2 separate regions of the Homo sapiens genome follow, and region 1 is linked to region 2. Evidence: promoter capture Hi-C in human tissues and cell types (Jung and others, 2019). All regions are on one chromosome and are shown on one strand. The core of a region is centred on a gene start or on the middle of the fragment in contact, and the rest is flanking DNA. Distances in the headings are between cores, read along the strand shown. Region 1 overlaps LOC101929540 (a long non-coding RNA gene). Region 2 holds the start of ZNF248 (zinc finger protein 248).

Region 1 (4,797 bases), core at 1,751-4,250, 560 kb after region 2:
AAGTATTTATTCTCACCTTTCAGACATGAACTTATGAATTCAACAGGTAAAGATTTACAACTTGATAAATCAACTTTGTGAGGTAAGTCTTCAGTCTTAAGTCAGATTAGAAGATTATGTGAGGTAATTAACACTTAACATTGATTTAATGGTAGCTTCCACATGAAATAGTATGCCTCTAAGTATTAATTATGTCCTAGGACAGGAGAATTCATGTTGTCAAAATTCTCATACTCTCTAGAACAATAAACTTATTTTCTTTTTATTAGTAAATATTGCATTTATGGGTAGACAAAACTGAAAGAACAATATTTGTTCTACTTTTGAGATGCAAGATTCATCCGGCATAATGCATTGAACCGGTTGTTATTGAAGTCTACACCAGTCAACTGAATAAGCATTCATCAAATGTCCATGATATGCAGGACATAAGTTTTCTTTTAGAGTATGGAACCATGCATATTATCTTTTAATTAGATGATTTAGTTAGACATGTTTTTAAAGAACTAGAAATATAATTGATTTTCTTGTTTTGGCTCTGGAGTGGAGTGGGGACGAAACAGAATGGATTCACACTGTTTAGATTTACTAAAATGGAAGGATTGCAGCAAGATCATATCCCTAGTCTCCCCATAGCAAATGTCACCTGCTAGCTGTTTTTTTTTTGGAGGTTGAAGTTTTGTTCTGTCGCCCCCGCTGGAGTGCAGTGGTATGATCTCAGCTCATGGCAAGCTCACCTCCTGGGTTCAAGCAATTCTCCCTGCCTCAGCATCCTAAGTAGCTGGGATTACAGGCCTCTGCCACCATGCCTGCCTAATTTTTGTATTTGTAGTAGAGTTGGGGTTTCACCATGTTGGCCAGGCTGGCCTTGAACTCCTGACTTCAGGAGATTCACCCGCCTCAGCCTCCCAAAGTGCTGGGATTATGGGTGTGTCACTGCACTTGGATTTAATGGAATATTTCACTACAGACTTTGGTAAACAGAATATTAGCATTTTTGGTGTTCTTTTTATTTTACTCATACTATTTTTCTTTGGACTCAATCACAATAACAGAATTAAAGATCAAAGTGTAAAAGTTAAAGACCAGTACAGATTCAATAATTATTCTTTTCTACATACTGTGTTTAATTGATATCCCTTTTTCTTTTTGTTCTTATAGCTCGAGCTGTAAAAGCCAAAGGTCCAGTGATGATCCCATACCCTTTTGTCCAGTCTCATGTTGAAGATTTTTATGTAGAAGGCCTTCCCAAAGGAATTTTTTTTTTTTTTTTGAGATGGAGTTTTCACTCTTATCGCCCAGGCTGGGGTGCAATGGCGCAACCTTGCTGGTCACTGCAACCTCTGCCTCCTGGGTTCAAGAAATTCTCTTGCCTTAGCCTCCCAAGTTGCTGGGATTACAGGTGCCCACCACCACACCAGGCTAATTTTTGTATTTTTAGTGGAGATGGGGTTTCACCATGTTGGCCGGGCCAGTCTCGAACTCCTGACGTCAAGTGATCTTCCCGCCTCGACTCCTGACATCAAGTGATCTTCCCACCTCGGCCTCCAAGAGTGCTGAGATTACAGATGTGAACCCATGCCTGGCCAGGAATTTTGTTTTTTAGGAAGGCTTTCTACTAATGGAATTCCTGGCCTTGAGAGGATGTTACTTTCGAAGGAAAGGATTTTTTTGTTATTAAAAGGTAAGATTCCTGGATTCTTATTGGACTGTTATCTCTGTTATGAGTAATCCATCTTTAGTCATTCACCACTAGGGTTGTATTTAATTAAGTCTGAGTTATTTTATGGTGGTTTTGTTTTGTTTTGTTTTTACTGAATTTTTTTCTCATTGCCGTGGCTTGAGGGCAATGGCGTGATTTCAGGTCACCACATTCTCTGCCTTCCAGGTTCAAGCAATTCTGCCTCAGCCTCCTGAGTAGCTGGATTTACAGGCATGTGCCACCATGCCTGGCTAATTTTTTGTATTTTTAGTAGAGATGGTGTTTCACCATGTTGACCAGGCTGGTCTAGAACTCCTGACCTTGGGTGATCCACCCGCCTCGGCCTCCCAAAGTGCTGGGATTACAGGCATGAGCCACTGCGCCCAGCCTGGGCCTGCTTCTTTCTCTTTTTCTTTTTTTTTTCATTAGCAGCTTAAAATTGGTGCCTTATTCAGACACAGGCAAAAGGACATTAGCCCAGCTTTGGAAATAGGTGTGAGCCCATATATGATTTTCCTAGTTTCTCCTCCCCCTTTGCTTTTTGCTCTCTTAGTATATTAATTGTTTTCACTCTCTGAATCTTTTTTCCCCATTTCTTTGGCAGACATTTTTACTTGTCTTGGAAGAGTAGGTGAAGAGCTGTTTTTAGGACTCTTTGAAAGGGTACAGTATGGGTGACAGTCTTGGCTAATGGTAACATCCAGGGAGCTGGGGTCAGCGTGAGCAAATTAGCAAAGCACTGGCACTCAGTGGCAGGAATACAAGTGACTGCAAAGTGTTAAACACATCTGGAAAGGGATACTGACATCATCCTCAGAATCTGTGGGGAGTTCACATAGCCAGTTAAGACCCATTCCTCTTTGACCCTATAAAGATTCTTTAAAGAATAATACCCTTAGTGGTTTTCTAGCCAGCTTGCCTGCTCATTTATCTTTGAGAACGACATGCCTTGTGGAGCTCCACAGGCCCCAGAGGGGTATGGATTCTGCATTTGAAAGTGCTGGAGCTGAGAGACTGGGTCTTGGTGGACCCCAAGAGGCCTGTTTCTCCTCTACTCATTGTTCTATTTTTTCCCAGCAGCTGGCATTGCTGTTTAAATGGGTTGTTCTTTGCTGTTTTAAGTTGTTTCATAGTGGTGTGTCAGGATTTGGGTTTTCTTAATACTTTCCAAGCTGGTGACTTGAGTGGTGCTTAGGGAGGAACTGTTTTAGGGCTGTTCTGGAGCTATAGAGGTCAGGTGTCTAGATACTCCCAGCTTGTCTGTTGAGGAGAATGCTGTTCTCATTGTGCTGCCTTTGGTGGTGCTGTGTGTGGCTCTTTAGATGTGGGTGGAGGTGAGCTGGGGGAGTTAATGAGATCTTTTTTAGGTGCTTTTGATAAAGTAGCCTGCACTACAGGATTCACTGTGACTTTTTTCCTTAACCTATGCATTTCTCTCTGCTAGCTTTTGCTGTCTTTCTCATGCCTTTGATTTTCCCAGCTCCTCTTAGTTGAATTAACCTAAGTGCTCTGCTATGGTTTAAATGTGTCCCCCAAAGTTTATGTGCTGGAAACTCAATCCTCAATGCAACAGTTGGGATGTGGGGCCTAATAAAATAGCCTTCATGAATGAGTTAATGTTGTTATTGTGGTAATAGATTAGTAATCACAGAGTGGGCTTATTATAAAACAGAGTTCAGCCCCTTTTGCCCTCTTGCTTTCTTGCACTCTCTTTTCCTTCTGCCTTCTGTAGTGGGATGATGCAGCAAGAAGACCCTTACCAGATGCAGGCCCCTCAACCTTGGACTTCCTAACATCCAGAACTGTTAAGAAATAAAATTTATTCCTTTCCTTTCCTTTTCTTCCTCCTTTCCCTTCTCCCTTTTCTTCCCTTCCCCTTCCTCCCTCTCTCTCTCCCTCCCTCCCTCCCTCCTTCCCTCCGTTCCTCCTTCCCTCTTTCTCTCTTTCCCTTCCTTCCTTTCCTTCTTTCCCTTCCTTCCTTTCCTTCCCTCCTTCCGTCTTTCCCTCCTTCCCTCCTTCCTTCCTTTTTTCTTTCCTTCCTTTTTTCCTTTTTATAAATTATGCAGTCTGTGGTATTCTTTTATAGAAGCATGAAATGGACAAAGACTCCGTTTTCAAGAGCAAGCACTTTTGTAGTTTCTGAGTGAATTATGACTGCAAAGGAAGTTCTATAGGTAGCCTCAGATCCACTACCTAGGAAGCATGCTACCAAGCAGACCTAGGATCTAGGATTTGATCAAGTGCTGGGCAACATGATACCTCTGCAATTTAGCACCTCCCTATATACCTCCAGTTGGCTCAGCCCATCAGGGCTAAAACTACCCCTCATATCCTAGTGTCTCTTGTAGGCAGAAGCCTTGCCTAAACCCTAAGCTGCTTGGCTCACATTCTGTCTTGTGCTTTTTTTGTAGGGGGTTCAAATATACACAAAAGAAATATGTTGAACCTCCATGCACCCAACCCGCAGATTAAGCAGTTACCTCCATTTTTCCAGATTTGTTTTGTCTGCTTCAATCTCCCTAAAAATTTATGTTTGTACAGGAAAGACTGAATAAATAGCTAATTCTCCACCCTACCTCTCATCTTAAGTCACTTTTCAGAGTAGTAAGTTAGTGACCTAGTAACCTTCCCTCTAATGACCAGTAGTTTTTTTTCTGAATACCATTATGAACTCATAGATTATTGTTTGCATTTGATGTATTTCAGGCCATTACAGTCTTTATTGTTTTGGATGCTTTCATTGTCTCATCTAGGTTAATAATTATCTCTTCAAGTTGACTTTCATGTCTTTTTGACGGGATCCTGTTGGACTTTGATGGCTTCCTTGCTTTCTGGCAAAAAAGATGTTCCAGGATCAATATACTGCACCATACATGGAGTCAGCCATTTCTCTAGGGAACCTTGATTCCTTTTAGTAGAGAACACAGTTTGAGGTCTTGGACTGAATGACTTTTGTGAACCTCCTCTCCTGAGACTACAGCCTGCATCCCTGCATATAGCCCGTTTGGAGCTCTTGCTGGGCACCAACAGATCTCCTAAAACTGCTATGTAGTTCTGCCTCACTCTTACAAAGATTCATCTCTTGAGAGTTTTGT
Region 2 (4,733 bases), core at 1,745-4,244:
TGCCAATGGGAAAACAAAATAATACTATCTCTAGGACAGGCATTCCCACTAAGCTGATCAAGTTCTGGGAATTCATCTAATATATAAACATATACACACAAAATTATAAATGTACAAGGTTATTCATTACCACATGGTTTGTCATAGCAAACAGCTGGAAGTAGTTTAATGAACTATGGACTTGAATTACTAGGCAATTGTGACAAAGAGAGAAAATGCTATTCATGTTCTGTCAGAGAAACATCTGTATGCTGTTAAGTGAAAAAGGAATAATGGAAAATAGTGTGTAAGTCAACCATCAGAATCAGCTTAAGCTGGAGGTTTATCAGAACTTCAGAATAAAGGACCCCATCCACAGCTACTAAATCAGAACCTGCATGTTAAAAAGATGCCAGGAATGCACAATCACATATAAGTTTGATAAGCCCTAGAGATAACAGATTCCTTTTTAAGTAAACTGAGGAAGCAAATAAGAATATACATACATATTTTCTTTAAACTGGATAAAGAAACACTGGCAAAGTAAACCAAAAACTAGAAAAAAAATAGACATCTTTGGTAGGTTGACCATACATTCCAGTAAGTCTGGGACTGTCCCAATATATGCCAGTTGTCTCAGCATAATTATTTATAGAACCTCTTTCACTCTCAGTGAAAATGTCTCGGTTTTAATGATTAAATGTCACCCTACCTGGAGAAACTGCATGAACAGAGGAAGGGAGTGTGAATATATATGTACATCTTTTGTTATCACTTATACTTTTAAAAAAGTAAAAGTAATGTATTATTACATTAATGTATTATTAATTCAAAAGCACTTTATTAAGGAAAAAAAATGAAACCAGTCAGGAAAAACAGACCGAGAAGAACCTAAGTAGGCTAAGGATGGAAATGCACGCATAAGCAATGCCTGGAGCAAAAAGAAAAGATGCCTTCATGAGGACTAGGGAGGGAATCAAAGTTAGGAAAGGACAGCTCAGAGGGTGGCATTACAGACACCAACAGAGGAGACTCTCCAAACAAAGACCATGGTTAACAATATATGCAGCAGACCAGGCAAGTAATGCAAAGGCAAAAACATGCACTAGCCTTGACTATGATTTGGTGGCCTTTGCCAGAACTGATTCAGGTGAGTTTAGGTGAGGGAATAAGGTTGCATTCATCAGATTGAAACATAAATGAGAAACACAGAAACAAGTCGGAACTGTCAGTGATTCAACCTAGAAATAAGAACGAGCTGACACAAACAGTTAGGGAAAACTGTTTTGAGGACATGCAGTCCCTCCATTCCTCCACATCGTCAAGGTTTTATTCCTGGATCAAACAGGACCATCAAACCTCAGCGTTTGTTCTCCTGAAAAGCATATGCACTGAGTTCTGCTCTGTAACTGTGTTCTTTGTTTCTACAAAGAAATACTTATAGACAATTTACTGCATTTATTTCAGAATTGTTACTAGAACAATTAGAGATAATATTACAATAACTTGGATAATTCTGCAAAATTAAAAATCCTGCATCTAATTTGCCAACTGCACTATTTTGGATTTGCTACTTCAGTTTTATTTCCCTTAATGTCAATTTTTGCCTATTTCTATTTTTCCATTTTCAAAACATAAACCCTTATAAACTTCAGAAATCCATTTTTAAACAAACTGGGAATAAAGAAACAAGAATCTCACCTGGGATTTGTTCATTTTCCGCTCTTAGTGGAGGAAGGAGAGCTGAAGGATTAGAAAGGAAGAATGTCAGGAGAGCCTTCGCCGGCCTTGCAGTTCGGAGATTCACCTGCCTATACAGGTCCACACACAAGATACTTACGTGTCCATGTGTGGCTCCGATATATGCTGAGCTCAGACATGACACTTTTCACTGAGTGAATGTAAATATTTCTTATTGATTTATTACCAATTTAGGTTCTGTGACACAGAAAAATTAAAAACATGAAAAGATGAGTTTAACAAGTTAACAGTAATCTGAAGGAAAAAACACTATGGGTTTGTCAAAATTCCTTGTAGGGAAAAAAAAAAACTGAGGCCATATTGTTTATCTGTTTACCTGTTAACACCATTAATGCCCTGAGGTTAGATAATGCAAAAGACCTCTAAAAAAAGGGATAGGATGTTAAATGCAAGTTTAAAAATGTTTGTTCTAACTTGCTAACAATTCCTCAAAAGGATCTTTTAATGAGAAACTGTGATATAGAGTAACAAAATGGGCAGCAGTGGCTCGGGAAACTGCAGACTTGACTTCTAATCTCAGTTCTGCCTCTAAGGAATGACAAGATCTGAACTACTCACCTCCTCAAACTCAATTTTGTTTTTCCATCTTTCAAATAAGGTCAAAACAGATAACCCAAGTATGACCTGACTGCACTACCATCCGGCGGGGATATCAGGCCAAGAGAGGAGGAAGCTCAGCAGCTCATCTGGATGTGCCCGGTGTTCGCGGAGGGGTGATAACAGCATTTCTTTCGCTGTGGCCGTGAGCCTTTCACCCGTCCCTGCCCTCAGACTCTCCAGAGGTGACGTTCCTGTTAGCCTGCGCGCCCACCCCTCAGCTCCAGCTCACCTCTCTCTTCTTAAATTTGTCCCAGACCTTGCACCAGCACACAGACTCCGACGGCTTCAGGATACTGTGCCATGATTACACATAATACATAAGCGAACGCGAAACGTGTAAATAATTACTTGGGATAGGAGGGCGGTCAGAGCCAGCAGGGGCCCTGGTGGTCAGCTAGGCCAGCCCCTTCGCTCCTGCACTCCACGGGCAGAGAGGCCCTTGGGGCCGGTGCAGGAGCCGTCTCCCTCGGGCTCTCCCAGGGAACGCACACCCAATAAATACAGCACCTAAACAATGAAAGTGCTCAAAACAACCCCAGGCGGCAAGTATTCCTAATATCCGTAATTTACAGAGAGGAAAACCGAGTCTCCCGTGGATAATTGTGTCTAATTCATTTGTCGCGGACCTGGCGCAGTCGCTCTCCCCCGCAGCCCCGCCTCCTCCCCGCGGGCTCAGGGCACAAAAAGCGCACACGCACACATCAAACGCCATGCGCACGCGCACAACAAACGTCACACGCTACGCACGCGCGTGCTGTCCCCTCCCCGCAGCCAGTTCCCTCCCCTTCGGGCCAGTGCGCATTGCCTACCCCGTGCTACAGGACTTCGCTGAGCGCCAGGCGCAGGGACTGGACGCATACGGACCCCCGGGAGCCCCGGAACTCGCGTTCCCACGCCAGACCTCATCCCCTTCTGACAGAGACGCCCTCGTCCCACCGTCGCCGCAGGCGCCAGGGGTCCCTCCCCACCGCCGAGGTCTAGCCGCCGCCCGCCCGCCTTCAGGGCAGCGCGGGGACCCCCTGGCCCTCGCCCAGTGCTCCGGGGCTCACCCGCCGCTCCTCGCCGCCTCCGGAGGCGAGGGATTGTTTCCCACAAGGGACTGGAGTCCAGGGAAGGACTCGCCTGGAGCGGGAGGCGGGGATGCACATGCGCAGAGGGAGAGGCCGAGCGCCCGAGTTAGGCTGGTGGATGCGATGCGGGGCTTGGAAGCGGCGCTAGACGGTGCCTGTCAGCTCTGGCCGCAACCCTCAGTTGTAAAATGAGGCTGATAGTGCCTACCTAGCAGGGGTTTTATGAGAATTGGAGGCGCTTACGTTGTAAAAGCATTTAAACCGGTGTCTGACACATAAATTGTTCAGTATATTTCTCACAATTATATATCATGCTGGTCATCATAAGGCTCTCCTGCAAAACAGCCTTGTATAGTGGGTTGAGAGATTACTGTCTCAGTTACCCACTCCTGCTTGGAACCAGGATTCTGTCAGTGTCCCCAGAGGTTGTGGATCAAATCAATGTGCCTGTTAGACACAAGCCAAGAGAAGGAAAGGTGTGCTTGAATTCATTCACGATCATGCATGGTAACGTTTAACTGAAAGACTGGAAGAGAAAACTAAAATCTGTGACCAGTATGGTTATTCTCTGGAATAAGGAAAAACAGAAGCTAGCAATTCAAGACCCAAACATAAAATTGTTTATATGTTTAAAAAAAAAAAAGCCGTTTGAGTAACAAATTTGAAGAAGAAAGCACGCACTCATTTCCCAAAACCAACCATACTTTACCCAGAACTACACTACACGTACATTCTTTTACGTGCACATCTGGCATTTTCAGCACACTATGAGCATGTGCGTGTGTTACAACTTTTCATTTAAAAAATCAACTCCTGGGTCATTGTCCACTTTTTTAAACTTTTCATTTGCTCATAATTTCAGATTTACAGAAGAGTTGCAAAATAGTTCCTATATGCCTTTCACCCAGATTCCACTAGTGTTAGTATTTTACATGACCATGGTATATTTATCAAAACTAAGAAAATAACATAGGTACAAGTACTATTAACTGAACTGCAGAGTTTATTCAGACTTAAGCAGTTCTTCCACTAATGCCCTTTTTCTGTTCCAGCAACCAATCAAGGATATTGTCACCGGGGGTCCTTGCTCCCAGAGCTCCCAAGATGGTGGTGGGCTGCTTCCGAGATGGGGGCAAGCCTCATGTTCTCTGACCTGGGGTTCTTGGCCTCATGGATTACAAGGAATGGAATTTTGGGCTATGTGGTGAGTGTTATAGCTCAATTAGAAGCCGTGGGTCACGGAAGAGAACTGTGGAACCCAGTGACTAGTGTTCAGCTCGATTAGGACCAACCTGGGACTTAGCTGTGCAGGAACAATGGCAA

Evidence for each region. The method cuts DNA at HindIII sites, captures the fragments that hold promoters and counts their contacts. A contact is called where the count stands out against the background at its distance.
Region 1: a contact is called between a fragment that was not itself captured here and the fragment with the promoter of ZNF248 in region 2, in 1 of the 25 tissues and cell types used here (spleen).

What each region holds. Positions count from the first base shown.
Region 1 is chr10:38,415,521-38,420,317 of GRCh38, forward strand. It overlaps LOC101929540 (a long non-coding RNA gene), which reads left to right. Exons shown (of 10, transcript XR_007062122.1): 6 at 24-82; 7 at 1,162-1,684. Among named protein-coding and RNA genes, the nearest start is that of LINC00999, 10 kb to the right of the region's middle. The HindIII fragment of the contact is 4,889 bases long and covers 557-4,797 here.
Region 2 is chr10:37,854,616-37,859,348 of GRCh38, forward strand. It overlaps ZNF248 (zinc finger protein 248), which reads right to left and starts at 2,995. Exons shown (of 6, transcript NM_021045.3): 1 at 2,570-2,995; 2 at 1,820-1,917; 3 at 1,681-1,722. The coding sequence starts at 1,695. ZNF248-AS1 (ZNF248 antisense RNA 1) reads left to right here and starts at 3,134. Exons shown (of 2, transcript NR_186559.1): 1 at 3,134-3,886; 2 at 4,463-4,733. RefSeq lists an enhancer at 2,488-2,547 and silencers at 2,865-3,241, 2,938-3,487. The HindIII fragment of the contact is 12,949 bases long and covers 1-4,733 here.